2 separate regions of the Homo sapiens genome follow, and region 1 is linked to region 2. Evidence: promoter capture Hi-C in human tissues and cell types (Jung and others, 2019). All regions are on one chromosome and are shown on one strand. Each heading gives the region's core, a stretch centred on a gene start or on the middle of the fragment in contact. The rest is flanking DNA. Distances are from core to core; before and after follow the strand shown.

Region 1 (6,714 bases), core at 2,715-5,214, 140 kb after region 2:
GCAACATCTGCCTCCCGGGTTCAAATGATTCTCCTGCCTCAGCCTCCCGAGTAGCTGGGACTACAGGTGCGTGCTGCCACACCCAGCTAATTTTTGCATTTCTTGTAGAAGTAGGGTCTCACCATGTTGGCCAGGCTGGTCTTGAACTCCTGGCCTCAGTTGATCCACCCACCTCGGCCTCCCAAATTGCTGGGATTACAGGTGTGAACCACCGCGCCCAGCCCCATTCTGTTTTTAACATTAAAACTCTATACTTGCATCATCCAATATTATAGCTTCTAGTTATACGTAGTCATTTAACTTTAATTAAAATTAAATAAAATAAAGATTTCATTCCTCAGCTGTACTAGTCCATTTTAGGTATTCACTAGCCACATGTGGCTAGTGGCAACCATATAGGACTGGGAAAAAGAACATTTCCATCATTACAGGAAGTTCCATTGGACAGTGCTGCTCTATGCGCTTTATTCATATTAATAGATTGGTCTGTTGTAAGGATTAACCAACATTGTGGCTCCCTTCGTACATGGGGATTTGCTAACTGCACAGTACTCCACTACCTTCTTTAATATGACAGGTTTGCAACCATGTTTTAGTAATATTTGTGAATGATTTAAGTATAGCTCATTCTAATGATGGTTCATCAGGATCAAACTGAATTGGGGATTTTATCTTTTAAAAGACTGTCCAAGGAATCATAGCTGTGTGTCTAAAAGGAACCAGAGGAATAATTTTCAATATCTAAGTAGGTTCATTTGTGGAGAATCTAAAAAATGAAATTAGATTACTGCTACCATCATTCCTTGAAGCTCCTAATCATAGCACTAGTGTAGGTGAAAGGCAGAAACCTAGGGGAGGGCTAATGGAGGAAAAGGTGAATAGGAACAGAAGTTTTACCAAATCACCAGAAGTATGTGTCACTTCTCAGAGGAGACTGTATTACAGATAACCAGGACAAAAGCTCCAGGATGAACAAAGCACTCCTGACTCTGGATCCAATGTCGAATTTTAATAGAGCAGTAACTAAAGCCAAATTAGTGAGAGATCCTATTGTTTTAGACTTTTACATTTCTTGTGACTTACTGTTGTTTTTGCTCACAGAAGTAGTCCTGAGCTTTAATTTTTAAAGTAATGATTCAATCAAGATGATACTCTAGAAAATGTGTGATAGAACATTTTGAGCTTTACCAACAATAGAAATTTGAAATTGTCAAAGATTGGCCATTTTTCACTTGTCTTATGTCACTGTTTTGGAATGACTCTGTGCTAGAGTGTAATCCATACCCATTGTTTAATTATTCATTGAGGGTAGTTTCAATTTCTACTCCCAATATATAGCTGAAATTTGCAGACTGCTAAAGGATCCTAGATAAATCCCATCTGTCCAAAATGAGGATGACAAGGAAGAACATCAATAAATATTAATTATTGATTCTAAGTGCTAAAAAATGATAAATATATAAGACAGTTCTAATGGAAAGAAAAATAAATGTAAAATAATAAACTATTTGTGACAGAAAACAATATGTAGTCTCTCAATACAAATGATAAATATATAAGACAGTTCTAATGGAAAGAAAAATAAATGCAAAATAATAAACTATTTGTGACAGAAAACAATATGTAGTCCCTCAATACAAAGGTTAATATTACAAAGGTAGAATTTAAAGACATATTTAGGCTGGGCATGGTGGCTCACACCTGTAGTCCCAGCACTTTGGGAGGCCGAGGTGGGAGGATGACCTGAGGTCCAGAGTTCGAGACCAGCCTGGCCAACGTGGTGAAACCCCATATCTACTAAAAATACAAAAATTAGTTGGGCGTGTTGTACACACCTGTAGTCCCAGCTACTCGGGAGGCTGAGGCAGGAGAATCACTTGAACCTGGGAGGTGGAAGCTGCAGTGAGCTGAGATCATGCCACCGCATTCCAGCCTGGGCAACAGAATGAGATTCTGTCTCAAAAAAAAAAAAAAAAAAAAAGACATAACTGCCTCCCTTTAGGAATCATAATTTGAATTCATTACAAGTGCACATGGTTTCATTAAGTGCTCCTAAAAAGTTGCATATAAATCACATTTTTAAAATAACATTTAAAAATCACTAATAGAAATTACTATTTGAAGTATCACTGATAAATCTACTTGCAAAATGAAGAATCCTTCTGAAATGCTAATGATTGTTTTATTATTGTACTTGTTTGCTTAATTTGAATTTTCTGTTGTTTCAATGTCTGGTATTAGTTGTTTAATTAAATGTCAATTTCATAGCTCTCAATAAATTTCCCTGAGTAGGTGGTATGTCCAGCAAATCTACCTGAGAAGTCAGTATTTGTCATGGGCTTGGAAACCATGTGCCCAAACATGTTAGAACTGTGTGCAAAATAACAGTAATAAGATTTTGTACAAAGGCTTGATGACTCTTCATATGAGTAAACTGTGAGGTTTTGTACATGGGTTTTGTGACGTACATTCTGGCTATGTGCAAATGTTTTTCCCTTCATTTTCTGATTTTTTTTTCTGTGTTCTAAATAACTGATTGCAAATTCATGTGTATGCATGTCTAGCTGTTCTTGAATCATGGTATAATCTACAGTTAGGACATCTCATAAAGTAAGGACAAGAAAAGACAACTCTACTTGAAGAAGCCAGGAAAAACCAAGGGCCCTTTTACCTAACACTTTGCTTCCGATGATAGCTTTGAAGGGGGAGTCATTGTTTTTTGTGACATCTGTTTACAAAAGGAATGGGTATAACATAAACATCACTTACTTCTCTTAATATTCCATGAAAGAATCTTATTCATATGCTGAACCTTTTTTTTTTTTTTTTAGACAGAGTCTTGCTCTGTCACCCAGGCTGGAGTGCAGCGGTGTGATCTTAGTTCACTGCAACCTCTGCCTCCTGAGTTCAAGCGATTCTCCTGCCTCAGCCTCCTAAGTATCTGGGATTACAGGCGCCCGCCACAATGCCTGGCTAATTTTTGTATTTTCAGTAGAGACGGGGTTTCTCCATGTTGGCCAGGCTGGTTTTGAACTGCTGACCTCAGGTGATCCACCCACCTCGGCCTCCCAAAGTGTTGGGATTACAGGCATGAGCCACCACACCTGGCCTATTTTTTAATTTTTAAAAATTGACACATAATAATTGTACATTGTTATGGGATACATAGTGATGTTTCAATACATACAATACATAGTGAGCAGATTGGGGTAATTAGCATATACATCATCTTGAACATTTATCTTTTTTTGTGTTGGGAACATTAAAATATTCTCTTTTCTAGCTATTTGGGAATATATATTATTGTTAACGATAGTCATCCTACAGTGCTGTGGGACGCTATAGCTGTAGAATTTATTCCTCCTATCTAGCTATAATTTTGTATCCTTTAACAAATCCCTCCCTGTCTATCCTCCCCAGCCTCTAGAATCCTCTGTTCTGCTCTTTACTCCTATGAGTTTAACTTTCTTAGCTTCTGCGTATGAATGAGAACATGTGGTGTTTAACTTTCTGTTACTGGCTTGTTTCACTTAACATAATGTCCTCTAGGCCAGGGATCCCCAGCTCCCAGACCGCAGACTGGTACTGGTTTGTGGCTTGTTAAGAACCAGGCTGCACAGCAGGAGGTGAGCAGCAGGCGAGCGAGTATTACTGCCTGAGCTCTGCCTCCCATCAGGTCAGCAGCAGCGTTAGATTCTCACAGGAGGGCAAACCCTATTGTGAACTGCACATTCGAGGGATCTCATAAGGTTGTGCGCGCCTTATGAGACTCTAACTAATGCCTGATGATCTGAGGTGGGACAGTTTCATCCTCAAACCATTCCCACCCACCACCCACCACATCCCTAGTCTGTGGAAAAATTGTCTACTACGAAACTGGTCCATGGTGCCAAGAAGGTTGGGGACTGCTGCTCTAGGCTCATCCATGTTGCTGCAAATAACAGGATTTAATTCTTTTTTTATGGCTGAATAGTATTCAATTGTGTACATATACCACATTTTCTTTATCCATTCTTCTATTGTCGGACATGGGTTGATTCATACCTTGGCTATCATGAATAGTCCTGCAATAAACATAGGGGTGCAGATATCTCTTCAGTATACTGGTTCATTTTCCTTTGGGTAAATACTCAGTAGTGGGGTTGCTGGACCATATGGCAGTTCTATGTGTGTTTTTTTGAGGAACGCTCATACTGTTCTCCATAGTGCTGTACTAGTTTACATTCCTACCAACAGTGCATAACAGTTCCATTTTCTATGCATCCTTGCCAGCGTTTATGTTTTTATCTTTTTGATAATAGTCATTTTAATGGGTGAGATGATATCTCATTGTGGTTTTGATTTGTACTTCCCTGATAATCAGAGATATTAAGCTTATTTTAAATTAATTAATTAGAGACAGGGTCTCGCTCTGTAGCCCAGGCTGGAGTGCAGTGGTGTGACCTCAGTTCACTGTGACCTCCGCCTCCTGGGTTCAAACAATTCTTCTGCCTCAGACTCCCAAGTAGCTGGGACTACAGGCACACACCACCACGCCTGGCTAATTTTTGTATTTTTGGTAGAGACGGGGTTTCACCATATTGGCCAGGCTGCTCTTGAACTCCTGACCTCAAGTGATCTGCCTGCTTTGGCCTCCCAAAGTGCTGGGATGACAGGCATGAGCCACCAGGCCTGGCCTCCAGTCTGCAATTCTAAGGCAGGACACACGCTCCTTGAATCATCTCAGTTGCCCTTGTTTGATCTATGTCCAACTCTAGTCCACCTTTTTATATACATATATATTTATTTATTTATACATTTCATTGGTAGACGCCTTCTGATGATGCCCAATGTGGTAGTGAGTTGGCCAAAAACAGCACACAGAGCAAATTTCATGACTAACCTCCCATTAGTGCAAGGTTGCCCTAGGACTGTAATAAATCAGATCGTAATGAAGCCTGGTATATTATAAATAGTTGTTGTCCCATGTTTATTACATAATGCTTATGATGTGCTGTAATTGCAAAGAGTGCAGGTTTTCAAATCAGAAATACCTTGTTTGATTCCTAGCCACTTATCTGCTGTGAAGTCTTTGACAGTTATGTAAATATTCTGAATTCTAGTTGCCTCACTTGTATACAGGATATACTAAACCTCCCTTTTGGGGTTGTTGTAGATGCAAATCAAACTAATCGGCTTCTTTTTTTTTTTTAAGATGGAGTCTCACTCTGTTTTCCAGGCTGGAGTGCAGTGGCATGATTTCGGCTCACTGCAACCTATACCATCAGAGTTCAAGTGATTCTTCTGCCTCAGCCTCCTGAGTAGCTGGGATCACAGGCATGCGCCACCATGCCCGGCTAATTTTTGTACTTTTAGAGGAGATGGCATTTCACCATGTTGGCCAGGCTGGTCTCAAACTCCTGACCTCAAGAGATCCACCCGCCTCAGCCTCCCAAGGGGATTACAGGCTGGGATTACAGGTGTGAGCCACCGCACCTGGCCGAATTGGCATTTTATTGAGAGCTTACCATAAATAAGACCCTGAAAGCTTCAAATGGTTTCTCTCATGAAATAAGTTTGATTTCAACTGCAAAATTGGAAGATTTCACTCTATACTCCCACTTTCTGATTTTTTTCCTGTAAAACTATTAAACAAGATTTCTAGTTAAATGTGATAGGTTGAACATAAACATTTTATCTCTGCTCTGCCCATGCCAGACGCTACTAAGATAAAAGTAAGGCAGAAAAAAAAAGTGGCTCACACCTGTAATCCCAGTATTTTGGGAGGCCGAGGTGGGAGGATCACTTGAGCGCAGGAGTTCAAGGCTACAGTGAGCTATGACCATGCCCCCTCACTCCAGCCTTGGTGACAAAGCAAGACCCACACTCAAAAAAAAAAAAAAAAAAAAAAAAATTCTCAAAATTCTACAAGGAAATCTAAAATGAGCAAAGACAAAAGGCTACATATTGTATAATTCCATTTATATGAAATCCATTTACAGAAAAGACAACACTATAAGGACAGAAACCAAATAATAGGGGCCAGGTGTGGGAACTGATTAATAGGGGCAAGGTGTGGGGAAGAGGGAACACACTTGAGCTTTCTTCCCCCTTAATTCCACCGCTGAAATTGGCAAAACGCACTCTGAAGCTAAAGTCCCCACGCTGTCCTGAGCAATAGTAGAATCACCAGAAGGCATCAACAAGCTGCTGGACACTGATACTTTTCCTGATACTTTGTCAAAGACACTTAAGAAGTCTTTGACAAAATCCATTTAATTGCGCATGGTGTGGCAAACTTTGTTAAAATGCAGTCACTCTGCTTTATAGTTATAACGTTCTATTTTGTGTATATAGAGTTAATTTTGTATTTAGAATCCTTTAGCACCATTTGAGACAGAGGTACCCCTGAGTGTTTCCAAATGAAAATTAATAATCATAGGTCTAGACAGCAAAATGAGGTAAGAGTTTAGCACAGTCACGATTACATATCTTTAGAATCTGAAAGCCAACCTTAGAGATTCCCACTCCAGAAAGTGGAGGTGGGTTAAGGCTCAAGATCTAGGGTCTGGTGGTGGCAAAAAATGGTTTAAAAAAGAAACATTATTTATATCCAAGGTTCACAGACAAATAGATAATCAGCTCATGTACAATTTCCGTCATTTACTGAGGCAAATCAACTTAGAGTGTCCTTCCCATATAATCTTTAGAGTTTCTACTGTTCTTTTGTAATTT
Region 2 (7,677 bases), core at 3,203-5,702:
TAAGATGGAGTCTTGCTCTTGTCACCCAGGCTGGAGTGCAATGGCACAATATCGGCTCACTGCAACCTCTACCTCCTGGGTTCAAGCAATTCTTCTGCCTCAGCCTTCCGAGTAGTTGGGATTACAGGCACCTGCCACCACACCCAGCTAACTTTTGTATTTTTAGTAGAGTCGGGGTTTCACCATGTTGGCCAGGCTCGTCTCCAACTCCTGACAAAGGTGATCCACCTGCCTCGGCCTTCCAAAGTGCTGGGATTACAGGCATGAGCCTGGCCAACTAAAAGATTCTTCTACAGTCAAACCCATTCTCCTCTCCTCCCTGCCTCTCCTCTCCCCATTCTCGGGAATGTTTTATGTTTTCTTATATTTGATATTTCTCACTATTGCAAAAAAATAAGGGACAGATTCTCCCATCGATTTTTGTGCTGTTCTGAAAGCCTAAAATAGAAAGGAGCACGTTAAGAAGTTAGAGACCTTCTGTGCCCACCAGCAGGAAAATCGTTAATAGTAACACAAAGAGGCCAGGCACGGTGGCTCATGCCTGTAATCCCAGCACTTTGAGAGGCTAAGGCGGGAGGACTGCTTGAGTCCAGGGGTTTGAGACCAGCCTGGGCAACACTGTGAGACACCATCTCTACAAAAACATTAAAAAATTAGCAGGGCATGGTGACATGTGCCTGTGACCCCAGCTCCTCAGGAGGCTGAGGTGGGAGAATCCCTTAAGCCCAGGAGGTCAAGACCAGTGAGCTGTGATGGAGTCACTGCACTCAAGTCTGGATGACAGAGTGAGACCCTGTTTCAAAAACAACAACAACAACAAAAAGTAACACAAAGAATCCTCCCAACAGAAATGATTCCCTTTCCTATAATTGGATAGTTTCCAGGAAAATGTACATTAGCTCTGTGTAGATAAGCACTTGGCATGGTACTTAAAACTCACAGGACCTAACAAATATTTATCAGGCAAGTACACTGATTGAACAGGGAGCAAGGAATTCCCTAACAGGTTCCTAAAAGAGATGTGAAACAAGTCTCCATTTGTTCCAGAGGGCAGTTGTTTTCAAATTAGTAAAGCTTACAGCAATAAAAGCAAATTTTTCTCTAAACTAAACAAAAGCTGAGCGAAAAATAGACAGGCTAACAGGCCATCTATTTGGTTTTTCTTTTTTTTTTGTTGTCAAGACAGAGTCTCACTCTGTCGCCCAGGCTGGAGTGCAGTGGCGCGATCTTGGCTCACTGCAACCTCCACCTCCCAGATTCAAGCGATTCTCCTGCCTCAGCCTTCCAAGTAGCTGGGATTATAGGCGTTTGCCACCACGCCTGGCTCACTTTTGTATTTTTAGTAAAGATGAGGTTTCACCATGTTGGCCAGGCTGGTGTCGAACTCCTGACCTCAGGTGATCCGCCCGCCTTGGCCTCCCAAAGTGTTGGAATTACAGGCCTGGGCCATCACACCCGACCTATTTGGTTTCACTTATTCACAGTTCCTTAATTTATTTCTCCAAGCAGGAGACAAAACCAAAACCAAAAACAGGCTGAAGTGGTGACTGAAGTCTCTCACCTGAAGACCCAAGACTTAGGGTGCCCCCAGTCCTAAAAGTCCTGTCTAAGTCTCTCTTCTCAACATTGTGCAGCCTGCCTTCTGCTGGATAGGAAAGGTACAGATGTGTGGCCAGCTAGATAATAACAACAGTTATCAAGCTGCCAGAGCGCTCACCTTAGCGCAGTGCTAAGGACTTTAGCTGTAATATCTCATTTAGTCCGTATAACAACCCTGTGAAATGTGTGATTTTATTATCTTCATTTTACAGCTAAGAAAACAGACTTTAAGTACCTAAATGTTGGGTCAGGCACGGTGACTCATGCCTGTAATCTCAACACTTTGGGAGGCTGAGGTGGGAATATCACTTGAATCCAGAAGTTCTGAGACCAGCCTGGGCAATGTAGCAAGTATCCCACCTCTACAATCACAAAATTAGCCGTGCGTGGTGGCATACACCTGTAGTTCTAGGGAAGCTGAGGCAGGGGGATCACTTGAGCCTAGGAGTTCGAGGTTACAGTGAGCTTGCACCACTGCACTCCAGCCTGGGTGGTAGAGTGAGACTTTGTCTGAAAAAAAAAAAAAAAGAAAAGAAAAGAAAGCGGCGGGCCGGGCGCGGTGGCTGACGCCTGTAATCCCAGCACTTTGGGAGGCCGAGGCGGGCGGATCACGAGGTCAGGAGATGAGACCATCCTGGCTAACACGGTGAAACCTCGTCTCTACTAAAAATACAAAAAAATCAGCCGGGCGTGGTGGCGGGCGCCTGTAGCCCCAGCTACTCGGGAGGCTGAGGCGGGAGAATGGCGTGAACCCGGGAGGTGGAGCCTGCAGTGAGCCGAGATCGCGCCACTGCATTCCAGCGTGTGCGACAGTGAGACTCCGTCTCACAAAAAAAAAAAAAAAAAAAAAAAAAAAAAAGAACTTAAATGTTTTGCCTAAGTCTACACAACTAAGCTAGTGGAAGACAAGGGATTTGAACTCAGGTTAGTATAATAAGTCAGCCCTAGGCAGTCTTGGTATTCATTAGGTCTGATGTGTGACACAGAAATCTGCACACAGTACTTTTAAAAGCCCCCAGGTGATTCTGACTTACTGACTTCTTGGGAAGCATTGCTAGAATCTACTTCCTGCAAAGGAATCTCCTGCTACTCAAATGGGGTGGGAACATGAAGAGAACTAATAGATAAACTTATATGAGCGGTACTATTACTTCACAAACCCATACTTCAGGTAGACAATGCTAAATGACTAATTGCTTTTGCCTGATGCTTTGGATGAAATGTTTTCTTAAGTTGCGTCTTTATTATTTATTTATTTATTTATTTAGAGACGGGGTCTCACTCTGTCACCCAGGCTGGAGTGCAGTGGTATGATTTTGGCTCATGGCAACTTCCTGCTTCCTGGGCTCAGGTGATCCTCCCACTTCAGCCTCCTTAGTAGCTGGGACCACAGGTGCACTAAAGAATGTCTGTATTTTTTTTCAGAGATGGGTTTTTGCCATGTTGCCCAAGCTGGACTGGAACTCCTGGGCTCAAGCGATCCACCCCCTTCAGCCTCCCAAAGTGCTGAGATTACAGGCATGAGCCACCGCGCCCAGCATATTAATGTTTTTTATTATTTTTTATTTATTTATTTTTTTTGAGACGGAGTCTCGCTCGGTTGCACAGGCTGGAGTGCAGTGGAGCGATCTTGGCTCACTGCAAGCTCCGCCTCCCAGGTTCACGCCATTCTCCCGCTTCAGCCTCCCGAGTAGCTGGCAGGCGCCCGCCACCACGCCCGGCTAATTGTATTTTTAGTAGAGAGGGGGTTTCACCGTGTTAGCCAGGATGGTCTCGATCTCCTGACCTCGTGATCCGCCCGCCTCGGCCTCCCAAAGTGCTGGGATTACAGGTTTGAGCCACCGCGCCCGGCTTATTAATTGATTTTTAAGCTCATCAGACCACTAGAAGCCTGAGTTAGTGTTGCAAGCACTCTCGCCAGAAAGGGAATTAAATTACCTTGGAGCTATGAAGCACAAGTTTAGTTACCTCTATCCCTGAGATACATAGATTCTGGCATGGGGTTCTATTTGAAAGTTTTTCATTTATTTTTCCTTTTTATTTATGTATTTATTGTTTGAGACAGTCACTCTGTCGCCCAGGCTGAAGTGCAGTGATGTGACCTGGACTCATTGCAACCTCTGCCTCCCGGGTTCAAGCAATTCTTGTGCCTCAGCCTCCTGAGGTAGCTGGGATTACAGGTGCGTGTCACCACACCCGGCTAATTTTTGTAATTTTAGTAGAGACGGTTTCGCCATGTTGGCCAGGCTGGTCTCAAACTCCTGACCTCAAGCAGTCCACCCGCCTCAGCCTCCCAAAGTGTTGGGATTACAGGCGTGAGCCACCGTGCCGGCCTGTTTTTCTTTTTTAAAAAAGACCTATTAGAGCTGTAGAAATTCTCGGTAGGAAGAAATACAAATAAAGATATATAATACCAAAAAAAGTTTCTTTTAATCTGAAGCATACATATATTTTGGCAAATGTAGATGTATAATTGGACCTAATGAAATGTTCTTAAAATCTAAAGACTGCCCTATGATGAATGAGTGTATGAATTAACATAAAAACTGGTTTTGTATATACAGGCCAACAGATACAAACTGGATTTGTTATTTCATTCACAAGAACCAAGGGGAAAAGATCTCAAGTCACACTTGGTTTCAACACACCAAGCCAAACAACTAATAAACCGCCCACGAAGAATGAAACTATTCTGAACTCGTCATTCTGCAGATGCAGATTATAATATTAAGATATGCACAAAATTGTATAAAGTAGACAATGAGTGACCTTTTATTGAAAAGAGGAGGAGTCAAAGATCCTGAAAGGGTTGGGACTGCCTGCAGTCAGTCCCTAGGGAACTTCCTGTTGTCACCACACCTCTGAGTCGTCTGAGCTCACTGTGAGCAAAATCCCACAGTGGAAACTCTTAAGCCTCTGCGAAGTAAATCATTCTTGTGAATGTGACACACGATCTCTCCAGTTTCCATATGTTGAGATTCTACTTATTCATCAGTTTGTTGTGCTTGTCAAGATCAGGTAGGTTATTTACAAACTGGTTTTCTTAACTGCTTAAAAAATAGAATTAGTTGTGTTGTCATTTTGCATGTCATCATTCCACTTCCTTCGGTGAACTTAAGTCCATAGAGTCGTTTTTAAGGAAAAAGATATAGGAAGCCTGTATCATTTCCTTAACATTTCCTTAAAAAAAAAAAAAAAAGATACAGGTTAGATGAACTTTCTCATCCTGAAAAAAATTTCTCAATAATAAAAGAAGCTATTATGTCTTTGAATTAATTTCTTCTTATTTACAACAATCAAATATGCTGAAAAATCTAGAAGTCTTATTTTCTTTCTTAGCCTATTTATCTGTGCCTTTCTAGTTCTGTGAAATGAGATGATTTATTTTCTGGAAATATAAAAATCTATCTTATATTTAATATATCAAGGGTTGGTTTTTATATTTTCATGCATTGAGAGTTTATTTAAATTATTCTTAGAGAAAACATAATTTTATATAGATAAACTCCTTGGAATGGTTCCTGGCATTCTTATAACTTAAAAATTATTAATCATAATGAAGAAATCAAAATTAAAACCCTAATGTACCAGATAATGTAACAAAAATAAAGTGAAATGCTTAAAAAAATAAAATTCAACACTTTGCAACCTTTTTAGGTATTCAGTTTTGTTTCAGATAGCTGTGGTAATGAAGGTTGATATAATTTTTTTGAAGGGCAAAGGGTAAATATGTTATATATTAAGACTTGTAAAAATGTTCATATACTTTAAGCTAGTAAAACCATTGCTGGGAATTTATTCTAAATGCATAACTTTTAAAAGAAAAAAGCCTCCTATGCAGAGATAAGTCTAACTATATTACTTGCAATAACTTGAAACTAGATATAACCAAAATGTTTCTACATACAGGAATGGATAAAAGACAGTATATCAACTTAATTTTTTTAAAGTAGCCTTTCAACTGATTCTGATGATATGCAGAAATAAGCAAACATTTTTAAAGTAATGCAAAGTAGAAAAAGTAGAACTTAAATTTGTTGGTAAACTATAATTACAACTATGTTAAAATCATGTATGTATGCATATGTGAATGAAGTTTAGAAGGGAAATGGAAAAATAGTATTAGGATTTCTGGCCTATAAATTTTTCTTTATATATGGTTTTGAAGTTGATTTTCTAGTAAGTTAAAATCATACCAATGATGATATTTTTAACTGAGAACTCGATATTTTAAAGTATATGTTTATTATTTTTTTTGTTTGTTTTTGAGATGGAGTCTTGCTCTGTCATCCAGGCTGGAGTGCAGTGGCGTGATCTCGGCTCACTACAACCTCCCCCTCCCTGGTTCACGCGATTCTCCTGCCTCAGCCTCCCAAATAGCTGGGACTACAGGAGTGCGCCACTGCGCCTGGCTAATTTTGTATTTTTAGTAGAGATGAGGTTTCACCACGTTGGCCAGGATGGTCTCAATCCTGTGATCCACCCGCCTTGGCCTTCCAAAGTCTGGGATTACAGGTGTGAGCCACCGCGCCCGGCCTATTATCATTTTTAAATTAAAAAAATTAAGATAAATGGTCAGGCGCAGTGGCTCATGCCTATAATCCCAGCACTCTGAAAGGCCAAGGCGCGTGGATCACCTGAGGTCAGGAGTTCAAGACCAGCCTGGCCAACATGGTGAACCCCATCTCTACTGAAAATACAAAATTAGCCAGGCCTGGTGGCATGCACCTGTTATCCCAGCTACTCGGGAGGCTGAGACAGGAGAATCTCTTGAACCTGGGAGGCAGAGGTTGCAGTGAGCCAAGATCGTGCCTCTGCATTCCAGCCTGGGCAACAAAGTGAGACTCCATCTCAAAAAAAATATATAATAATATAAATGTAGAGGTATCTTAAATGGGTCAGGGACAACCCTAACACAAAAACACAAGATGGCTTGTGGGTACCTTCTTCCAGTCTTTCATTATGTATCTCCATTTATAAAGTTGAAAAAAATGGCAACTTAATTTTTTTGTGACCTTCCTTTTCCTTAGCATCTTCTCAGAAGTAAAGTCTTGTTTTACTGCTAGATTCTAGAAGACTGTCACTGCTGCATGATAGAATCTCAGCAGACAGAGACACACAAGAATAAACTTCTGTAGGTAGAAGGAAAAAAAATAGTATAGCTGTAAGCTAATTCTAGTCTTCTCAGTGTCTAGGAAACCATAAACTTGGAACTTTCATTAGGGAGGGTGTTGAATAATATTCATCTGGTAGCAGACATTATTAATCTCAAATACATGGACTTCTTGTTTTTCCCTTCTGCTTGCAGTTCAAAAATTAACAAGCATTAAAATGGGCTTCAGAAATCCCAAGGATACAAGTCATTCAGTTTCAGAAATGTTTGTTTTGTTTTCTAATCTTTGTGAAATAATGTTAGGAATGTTTGCCATAATCTTACCAGTGAACAAAGCAATGGCTAACAAACTAAAGTACACTAGAATCCCCTGAGGGCTTGATTAAAATGCAGACTCCACCTCCAAAAATCCAAACTTAGTAGATCTGGGAGTGAGATCCTGGAATCTACATCTTAAAAAATTTTTTTGGTTGGTCCTAGGGGCTCACATCTGTAGTCCCAGCACTTGGGGAGGCCGAGGTGGGAGGATCGCTTGAGCCCAGGAGTTGGAGGCTGCAGTGAGCTATGACTGTGCCTCTGAGTAGCCACTGCACTTCAGCCTGGCTGAACAAGACCCTGTCTCAAAAATTTTCCCGCCCTGTCTGTATCTGGAACTTACAGGCACATACCATTGTGCCTGGCCTAGAATCTGCATTTTTAACAATTCCTCAGGGTTTTTCAGCTGCAGGTGGTGAAACAAACATAGGTTTTAAAATATTGTTCTAAATTAAGACTGCTTGACATAAGTATTTTTAAAAGTTACTCTGCTATCGATATTTTGGCCCATAGCAACTGTAAAACTAGATAGATATTTTCCCAGAAAAAATTGTTTAATGCCAAAACCAGAATTATTTCCTCAGATATTTGCAATCCTCTAGAATGATTTGGAACTGTGCCTGTGTGGTGACTCATCTTTCTCTAACAAG

What was found. Contacts are between HindIII fragments. The study calls those that stand out against the background at their distance.
Region 1: a contact is called between a fragment that was not itself captured here and the fragment with the promoter of LIPH in region 2, in 1 of the 25 tissues and cell types used here (dorsolateral prefrontal cortex).

Annotation. Positions count from the first base shown.
Region 1 is chr3:185,407,049-185,413,762 of GRCh38, reverse strand. The region is part of intron 1 of MAP3K13 (mitogen-activated protein kinase kinase kinase 13); the gene reads right to left. Among named protein-coding and RNA genes, the nearest start is that of MAP3K13, 47 kb to the right of the region's middle. The HindIII fragment of the contact is 6,044 bases long and covers 943-6,714 here.
Region 2 is chr3:185,549,363-185,557,039 of GRCh38, reverse strand. It overlaps LIPH (lipase H), which reads left to right and starts at 4,452. Exons shown (of 10, transcript NM_139248.3): 1 at 4,452-4,617. The coding sequence starts at 4,569. RefSeq lists enhancers at 1,536-2,211, 4,363-4,442. The HindIII fragment of the contact is 12,609 bases long and covers 1-7,677 here.